Regions from separate parts of the Homo sapiens genome. Here regions 1 and 3 are each linked to region 2. Evidence: promoter capture Hi-C in 16 types of primary human blood cells and fetal thymus (Javierre and others, 2016). All regions are on one chromosome and are shown on one strand. Each heading gives the region's core, a stretch centred on a gene start or on the middle of the fragment in contact. The rest is flanking DNA. Distances are from core to core; before and after follow the strand shown.

Evidence for each region. Contacts are between HindIII fragments. The CHiCAGO score rates a contact against its expected background, and 5 or more counts as called.
Region 1: a contact is called between the fragment with the promoter of POMC here and a fragment that was not itself captured in region 2, in 1 of 17 cell types (naive B cells). The highest score is 6.4, in naive B cells.
Region 3: the fragment with the promoter of EFR3B here is called in contact with a fragment that was not itself captured in region 2 in 1 of 17 cell types (fetal thymus); the score reaches 5.3 in fetal thymus.

Annotation. Positions count from the first base shown.
Region 1 is chr2:25,167,323-25,170,022 of GRCh38, reverse strand. POMC (proopiomelanocortin) reads left to right here and starts at 1,443. Exons shown (of 3, transcript NM_000939.4): 1 at 1,443-1,525. RefSeq lists cis regulatory regions at 1,141-1,166, 1,167-1,340, 1,406-1,418, an enhancer at 1,327-1,346 and a promoter at 757-1,569. The HindIII fragment of the contact is 11,223 bases long and covers 1-2,700 here.
Region 2 is chr2:24,404,549-24,407,248 of GRCh38, reverse strand. LOC105374329 (a long non-coding RNA gene) reads right to left here. Exons shown (of 3, transcript XR_001739340.3): 2 at 2,373-2,487. Among named protein-coding and RNA genes, the nearest start is that of ITSN2, 45 kb to the right of the region's middle. The HindIII fragment of the contact is 6,674 bases long and covers 1-2,700 here.
Region 3 is chr2:25,040,730-25,043,429 of GRCh38, reverse strand. EFR3B (EFR3 homolog B) reads right to left here and starts at 1,354. Exons shown (of 23, transcript NM_014971.2): 1 at 1,111-1,354. The coding sequence starts at 1,117. RefSeq lists silencers at 1-90, 421-550, 661-740, 871-1,490 and enhancers at 448-1,396, 1,397-2,346. The HindIII fragment of the contact is 2,761 bases long and covers 1-1,957 here.

The DNA.
Region 1 (2,700 bases), core at 194-2,693, 760 kb before region 2:
AGCCACTTGCACTGACAAGATGGGGATGGACTTCTGTGGAAGGCAGAGGAGGTCATGCCTCATGCCCCTGGTAGGAAAAGTGGCCAAAGAGGGCTTCAGAGAACAGGGGCTGATGGATGGGCTACATCTTGATGTGAGTCAAGCTCCTGGATGGCTGGAGAGAGGAAGGATGTTCTAGTTGGGGGAACAGCTTGGACAATGGAGACCCAAGAAAGCCATGTTCTAGCAGTGTGAATGTTGTGGATGCTGAAGTGCCAGGATGCAAGGTGGAGAACTGGGAAATGGCCCTGGAAAGGGGCCAAAGCCGGGTGATGAAGCACCTTGTCTACTGTGACGGAGCTTGGATCTCTCTTGTGGTCCAAAGGGAAAGGATTGCTGAATGTAAAGCCAATGTCACCAGAAAAGCTGAATCCACAAGAGAGTCCTGGAGTCCAAAAGAGCATCTCATGGGGAATCAGGAAAGTTCTGGCATTTGGCAGATTAAGCAAGTGTCTTGATTTGAAGTCCAGTTTAGTCCCAATACTCCCTCCCACACCCACCACATCGCACAATTTGGTTTTGTTTATTTACTCCAGGTTAAGGTAGAGTCTCTTAGCTTGGTTTGAGTGCTGTACTCTTCTCTCTGGTCTGATATTTGGAACTAAAGCCAAGCCAGAACTCCAGGGCCAAGGGGGATGTTGAAAATTGTCTGAGTCCCCAGACCACCCTGCCAGCTCATGGCAAAGGGAGGGATCAGAGGCCACAGGGAAAGCACTTCAGCTGCTCTTCACAGCATCACCCTCTCCCCATTTAATGGTTTAGGTTAACAGGACTTTTTCCTTGAGGCTTGGGACACGGAAGGGAGCCTCCCCTAAACCAGGCCCTTGGAGAGCAGGCCCCAGGGGAGCAGTGCAACTCACCTTCACACCCACAAGACGGCTCCTGACTTCTGCTCCCTCCTCCCCTCCCCAAAGTGGAACAGAGAGAATATGATTCCCCACGACTTCCACATCACAGTTTCCAAACAATGGGGAAATCGGAGGCCTCCCCGTGTGCAGACGGTGATATTTACCGCCAAATGCGAACCAGGCAGATGCCAGCCCCAGCACGCACGCAGGTAACTTCACCCTCGCCTCAACGACCTCAGAGGCTGCCCGGCCTGCCCCACACGGGGGTGCTAAGCCTCCCGCCCGTTCTAAGCGGAGACCCAACGCCATCCATAATTAAGTTCTTCCTGAGGGCGAGCGGCCAGGTGCGCCTTCGGCAGGACAGTGCTAATTCCAGCCCCTTTCCAGCGCGTCTCCCCGCGCTCGTCCCCCGTCTGGAAGCCCCCCTCCCACGCCCCGCGGCCCCCCTTCCCCTGGCCCGGGGAGCTGCTCCTTGTGCTGCCGGGAAGGTCAAAGTCCCGCGCCCACCAGGAGAGCTCGGCAAGTATATAAGGACAGAGGAGCGCGGGACCAAGCGGCGGCGAAGGAGGGGAAGAAGAGCCGCGACCGAGAGAGGCCGCCGAGCGTCCCCGCCCTCAGAGAGCAGCCTCCCGAGACAGGTAAGGGCGCAGCGTGGGGGACCCGTGCTCTTTCCCCGGGATCCCCTGTCCCCGTCCTCGCGATGCAGTCGGCCGGCTCCGGCTCCGAAGGCGGACCTGGGCGCCTCTGGCTCTCCGCGGTCCCGAGTTCTCGACAAACTTTCTGCGCCGACTGCGGCATGAGAAGCCGCCAGTAGCTGAGCTGGAGGGCCCACGTCCGGCCCCTGGGCGGACGGCCGCGAAGCTGCAGGCGCTGTCTCCAGGGAGCCGGCGGCCTCCTCTCCCCCAGGGGCTCGCGGCGGTCCGGAGGCTCCGAGAGCTTGCTAGGAGGTCTTGGGACAACCCGGTCTTTTTTTTTTTTTTTGAGACGGAGTTTCGCTCTTGTTGCCCATGCTGGAGAGCAAAGGGGTGATCTCTGCTCACCGCAACCTTCGCCTCCCGGGTTCAAGCGATTCTCCTGCTTCAGCCTCCCGAGTAGCTGGGATTACAGGCATGCGCCACCACGCCCGGCTAATTTTTGTATTTTTAGTAGAGACGGAGTTTCTCCATGTTGGTCAGGCTGGTCTCAAACTCCCGACAACAGGTGATCCGCCCGCCTTGGCCCCCCAAAGTTCTGGCATTACAGGCGCGAGCCACCGCCCCCGGCCAGCCCGGTCTTTTAGTATCTCTTGCTCCCAGTTTCCAGGATAGGTGTCACATCTTGAAAGTCAAATTCCATACACGCTATCGCAAATTAATGTTGGAAACGGGGCAGCAGAGAAAAGGATAAAAGTCATAATGAACGCCCTGCCTTCCGGATTTTTTCGGATTCAGACCCCTGAATCCTTGTTTCCTTGCCCACCTTAGCGCACCCGAGGTGGCCGCGCTATGATAATTACATGATAACTGGGTCAATTACAATGCAGAATAGTTGGGTCTCTTCTCTCCAAGACCTAGCTGGGGTTAAAAACAGGTGGCCGGGGCGGGAGCTGTCCTAGATCCTGAAACGCACTGTCTAGTTTCGGATGCCCTCAACAGAACCGGGGTGGACGGTTTATGGCGCAGATCCTGGGTTGAGGGCACGGGCAGCCATTTGGAATGATCAAGGCTCAGGTAAGGGGCGTTTCCAGCGAAGGAGAGACAGTCCACTTGGCATTTGGATTCCCCAAATTCTTCATGTTTAAATGGGGCAGGGAGGGTTCTTACAGAATGGCTGG
Region 2 (2,700 bases), core at 143-2,642:
AACATTTAAAAATTACACACATCTGGCTGGGCATGGTGGCTCATGCCTGTAATCCTAGCACTTTGGGAGGCTGAGGTGGGAGGATCACCTGAGGTCAGGAGTCCGAGACCAGCCTGACCAACATGGTAAAACCCCATCACTATTAAAAATACAAAAACTGGCCAGGCACAGTGGCCTGTAACCCCAACACTTTGGGAGGCCGAGGCGGGTGGATCACGAGGTCAGGAGTTTGAGACCAGCCTGACCAACATGCTGAAACCCCGTCTCTACTAAAAACAAAAAAAATTAGCTGGGCATGGTGGTGTGCGCCTGTAATCCCAGCTGCTCAGAAGGCTGAGGCAGGAGAATCTCCTGAACCCGGGAGGCGGAGGATGTAGTGAGCAGAGATCAAGCCACTGCACTCCAGCCTGGGCGACAGAGCAAGACTCTGTCTCAAAAACAAACAAAACAAAACAAAAATTACACACATCTAAGTTCCAATCCAAGAATTCTGATTCAGTGCATCAAGTGTGGGGTGCCTTTGGCCAAACACTATGTTTTCAGGGTATACATTTCTCCTAATCCCTTCTTCCATCAATTCTGCTTTGTTAACAGGGAAAAAGTCGGTCATGGCTATTGGTTAGGCTGCCAAGATCTGTTCAATATTATACGGTTAAATTTGGATTTTTAAACTAATGAGGAAAAAATACTTGTGTTATTAAAGAGTGACCAGAGGAACTTTCTTCTCAAGTAGGAAAAAAAAATCCACTAACTATAAAGAAAATGATAAATTAAGCCACATTAAAATTAATAACTTTGGCTTGGCCCGGTGGCTCACGCCTGTAATCTCAGCCCTTTGGGAGGCCTAGGCAGGCAGATCACGAGGTTAGGAAATGGACACCATCCTGGCTAACACGGTGAGACCCCGTCTCTACTAAAAATACAAAATAAAATTAGCCAGGCATGGTGGCACTTGCCTGTAATCCCAGCTACTTGGGAGGCTGAGGTAGGAAAATTGCTTGAACCCGGGAGGTGGAGGTTGCAGTGAGCCAAGATCGCATCACTGCACTCCAGCCTGGGCGACAGAGCAAGACTCCATCTCAAAAAAAAATTAATTAATTAAATTAATAACTTCTGTCCATCACAAAACACCATGAAGAAGGTAGAAAGGTAAGCCATGGAATGGAAAATTATAGTTATATCAAATATTCTTGAGAAAGAACTTTAAAGAACTCTTACAAATTAATTTTAATTATTTGTATTTATTTATTTATTTTTGAGACAGGGTCTCACTCTATCGCCCAGGCTGGAGTGCAGTGGCTTGGTCTCAGCTCACTAACCTCCGCCTCCTGGGTTCAAGCAATTCTCCCACCTCAGCCTCCCAAGTAGCTGGAATCACAGGCATATGCCACCACACAGGCTGGGCGCGGTGGCTCACACCTGTAATCCTACCACTTTGGGAGGCCAAGGCAGGCAGATCATTTGAGGTCAGGAGTTTGAGACCAGCCTGGCCAAAATGGCGAAACCCCATCTCTGCTAAAAATACAAAAATTAGGCCCGGCGTGGTGACTCACATCTCTAATCCCAGCATTTTGGGAGGCCAAGGGGGGTGGATCACAAGGTCAGTTCAAGACCAGCCTGGCCAAGATGGTGAAACCCCGTCTCTAGTAAAAATACAAAAAATTAGCTGGCCATGGTGGCGGGGGCCTGTAATCCCAGCTACTCAGGAGGCTGAAGCAGAGAATTGCTTGAACCCAGGAGGCGGAGGTTGCAGTGAGCCGAGATTGCACCACTGCACTCCAGCCTGGGCGACAGACCGAGACTCTATCTCAAAAACAAACAAACGACAATTAGCCAGGTGTGGTGTCATGCACCTGTAGTCCCAGCTACTCGGGAGGCTGAGGCAGGAGAATCGCTTGAACCCAGGAGGTGGAGATTACAGTGAGCTGAGATGGTACCACTGCACTCCAGCCTGGGTGACAGAGCAAGACTCTGTCTCAAGAAAAAGAAAAAATTATGATTCTGCTGGGTATGGTGACATGTACCTATAGTACCAGCTATTCAGGAGGCTGAACAGGAGAATCACTTGAATCCAGGAGTTTGAGTCCAGCCTGGGCAACATAGTGAGACTCTGTCTCTAAACAAATAAATAAATAATTCCCTTGCCATCAACATTTTTAAACAAGAGATGTCTTCCCTGTGTGAATATTAAACTTTTAAATTAGTATGAATGTTAGATATTATAAACTATGTTTTACGTAAGTGGGGGAAGTTTAAAAAGCGGCTACTGTTAAGAGAGGGCATTGTTAATGCATTAACCAGGAATAGACTACGTTATGTTACAATAACAATCCCCCAATTGTATTGCTTTAACCTATTTATTTTCCACTCACACAAAGTTGGCTGCAGGTACTGTGGTCCTTCCAGACAGCTCCCTTCCAAGCATGAGTCACATCCAGGCCAGTTCGTTCCCTCTTCTGGTTATGCCATCTCCACATTTGGCCTCGGCTGTCATTGCGGCAAGAAAAGAGAGAGGAATCAAGAATGATAAAGTGCTCTTCTCTTTGTGCTTTGTCCCAGAAGTGACACATGTCATTTCCACTCACGGCTCATTTGTCAAAACGAGTCGCATAGGCCCTCCTAACTGCAAGGGAGCTGGGGAGTCTTGGGAGCACATGGATATTCAATGACTAATAAATTACAATAAATTATATCCCTCCA
Region 3 (2,700 bases), core at 105-2,604, 640 kb before region 2:
CTAACAAACTTTGTGACTCACAGTCTGTTCGCGGAGCGAGGCAGCTGAGCAGCCGAGCAGCCTCAGTGATGGGTTAAATTGGGAACGCACTCTTCTCCAAACACTGACCCCTCAAGTGCAGCCTGAGCCCCTACCTTGCAGTGGGGGTGGGAGGTGAGCACAGCTCCAATTATTTTGCTGGCACTAGAAGAGCTGCCAGAGACCTGGGTTTTCATGGACTTATGTCTACCGGGATCACACACACACGCACAGCCCTTGGTGGGCTGCAGGCTCAGGAATGCAGTCCATTCCTAGACTGGTCTAGGTCTCCAGTGCTCCATTCATCAGAGCTGCAATGTGGGACCCAACGCGCTCTCTCTTCTTCACCCACACTGCCTGCAAAACCAGAGGGAGTCCTAGCAAATGATCAAGCAGAGCCGTGCATCGTGAGGGTCTGGCTAACTGTTGCACGGCAGTTGAGGGGATGGCGGTGGAGGCGGGGAGAGGTCAGGGCTGTGCTGCACCCTCTCAGCAGCGTCTCCTCCCTTCATCACTGCGGAGGGAAAATCTGGAAGTTGGTGAACCTGGATCCCGCGGGGCGGCAGGGGCAGGCAGAGGCCGAGTCCATTCAGGCGGGCGAGACGAGACTCGGCCACTGGCTGCTCCCCGGGCCTCTGCGCCGCCGGCGCCGCCTCCCGCCTTCTCCGAGCCGCGCAGACGACCGGCCGCGGGCGTCTCCCTCAGCCCTGGACCGGCTTCCCACAGAAAACTCCCAGGCACAAACCGCTTTTGTTAATTCCGCAAATGCTGCCACACGACCACCTCCTCCAGCACTCCCGGTCTGCTCGGCTCCGGGAGACCCGCTTTCCCCTGAGCCTCCGCCCCCCGAAGGACCACCGCCCAGCACCGGCACGCGCCGGGCCTGGAGAGGACCCCAGGGTCCCCGGCCCGAGGCATCTTTGTCCTCGCAGCGCAGACGCGCGCGCACAGAGCGACCGCAACAGCCCCGCCGGGCACCAGGTCAGCGGCCTGGCCCCGCGCCAGGGCCGTGCAGGGGGACAATGGTCCGCGCCGGGGAAGTTTGCGGAGTCGCCCCCGCGGGCCCGGGCCCGGGCGCGGAGCCCTCCTTACCGTACATCTCGGCGGGGCGCGCGCCTCTCGAGAGGCCGGCGTCGCTGCGGCGTTCCCAGCCAGCCCTCGGCGGCGCCCGCCTTTCATTCACAGTCGGGGCGGGGACTGGCGGCGGCCGACAGGGGCCCGGGCGGGGAGGGAGCAGACGCGGGGGCCGGCCGCGGGCAGGACGGAGCCGGGCGCCGCCAGCCCATTCAGCGCCGGGCTGCAGCGGCCGCCTCCGCTCGGGTTGCTGGGCACTGCTGCGCGCAGGGGGCGGGGGCTATGCTAATACTAATGCTCCTCCCTCCCGGCTCGGCCAACCCGAGGCCTCTGCGAGCCCCTCGCCCCGCCCCGCCCCTGCGCCCCGCCCCCGAGAAACCCACAGCCGGAGATGCGCCTTTTCCGAGGCTGTCGCCCTAAGGGCCGCAGCGTGCACCTGCGGAGCTACCCACCCCAACTCCCTGCTCCTGTCGGAGCGCTCGGAAGCTCTCCCTAACCTGGGGTCCTCGAGGTCAGCCGGGGCGCTGAGAGCTGCAGGTGCACCCCTCCTCCAGTTCTGTCCAGGCTGCGTGGGCTAAGCCGGGGGGCGCAAGGATGGGAATTGGGGAATGACTTCCACCCTCTCCTGGCTAGGTACCTTAGCTGAGCGCCGTTCTCTGATGAAGCCCTCCAGCCCTCAGCTGCGCCCTACCAGCTACTCTCTGGCTAGGTGCCCAGCCACTCTCTGGCTAGGTGCTTGCTACCACCAAACAGCGTCCTTCCCGGGTCAGGGACGCAGGAAACGCACCCCACTCCCAACCCCCAAGGGCTGCAGGAAGTCCGCTTGCTTTTCCTCTCCCTGATTTATATGTGTAATTCGCAAGCTTTGCCGCCAGGATCCTCTCCAGCTGAGCCCCAGCGCCGACTTGAATTCCAGCTCTGCACCTGCCGTGACCCTATGAGGAACAGGCACAGAGAGGCAGCGGCTCATGCCTACGCCCACACCTGAAGATCTCTCCTAAGCTAGCTCAGGACTTCCCTGGGCTTCTCATCCAGCCTTCTTTACATTGCACACGTTCCCGTCTTTTTTTTTTTTTTTTTTTTTTTTTTTTTTTTTTTTGACATGGAGTCTCACTCTCGCCCAGGGTGGAGTACAGTGGCACTATCTCGGCTCCCTGCAAACTCCGCCTCCTGGGTTCAAGCGATTCTTCCACCTCAGCCTCCAGAGTAGCTGGGACTACAGGTGCGTGCCACCACGCCCGGCTAATTTTTGTATTTTTTGGTAGAGAAGGGATTTCACCATGTTGGCCAGGCTGGTCTGGAACTCCTGACCTCAAGTGATCCGCCCGCCTCGGCCTCCCAAAGTGCTGAGATTACAGGCCTGAGCCACTTCTCCTGCCCCTCCTGGCCTTTCAATATCGATTTCTTAGTTTCTCTTGGCCCATGGTTGAGAGTTGTTTGGGTTTTCTTTTGTTTTTTTCTACTGGTAGAAATATTCTACTAGTAGAAGTTAGAGAGGAAAGGAACTTAAAGATACTTAAGAACTGAACTTCATTTTACTTCATTTAACGTTGAGAGGTTAATTTATGTTGTTAGGCTGGGCTGTGTGTCTGTAGGCCAATGATCTAC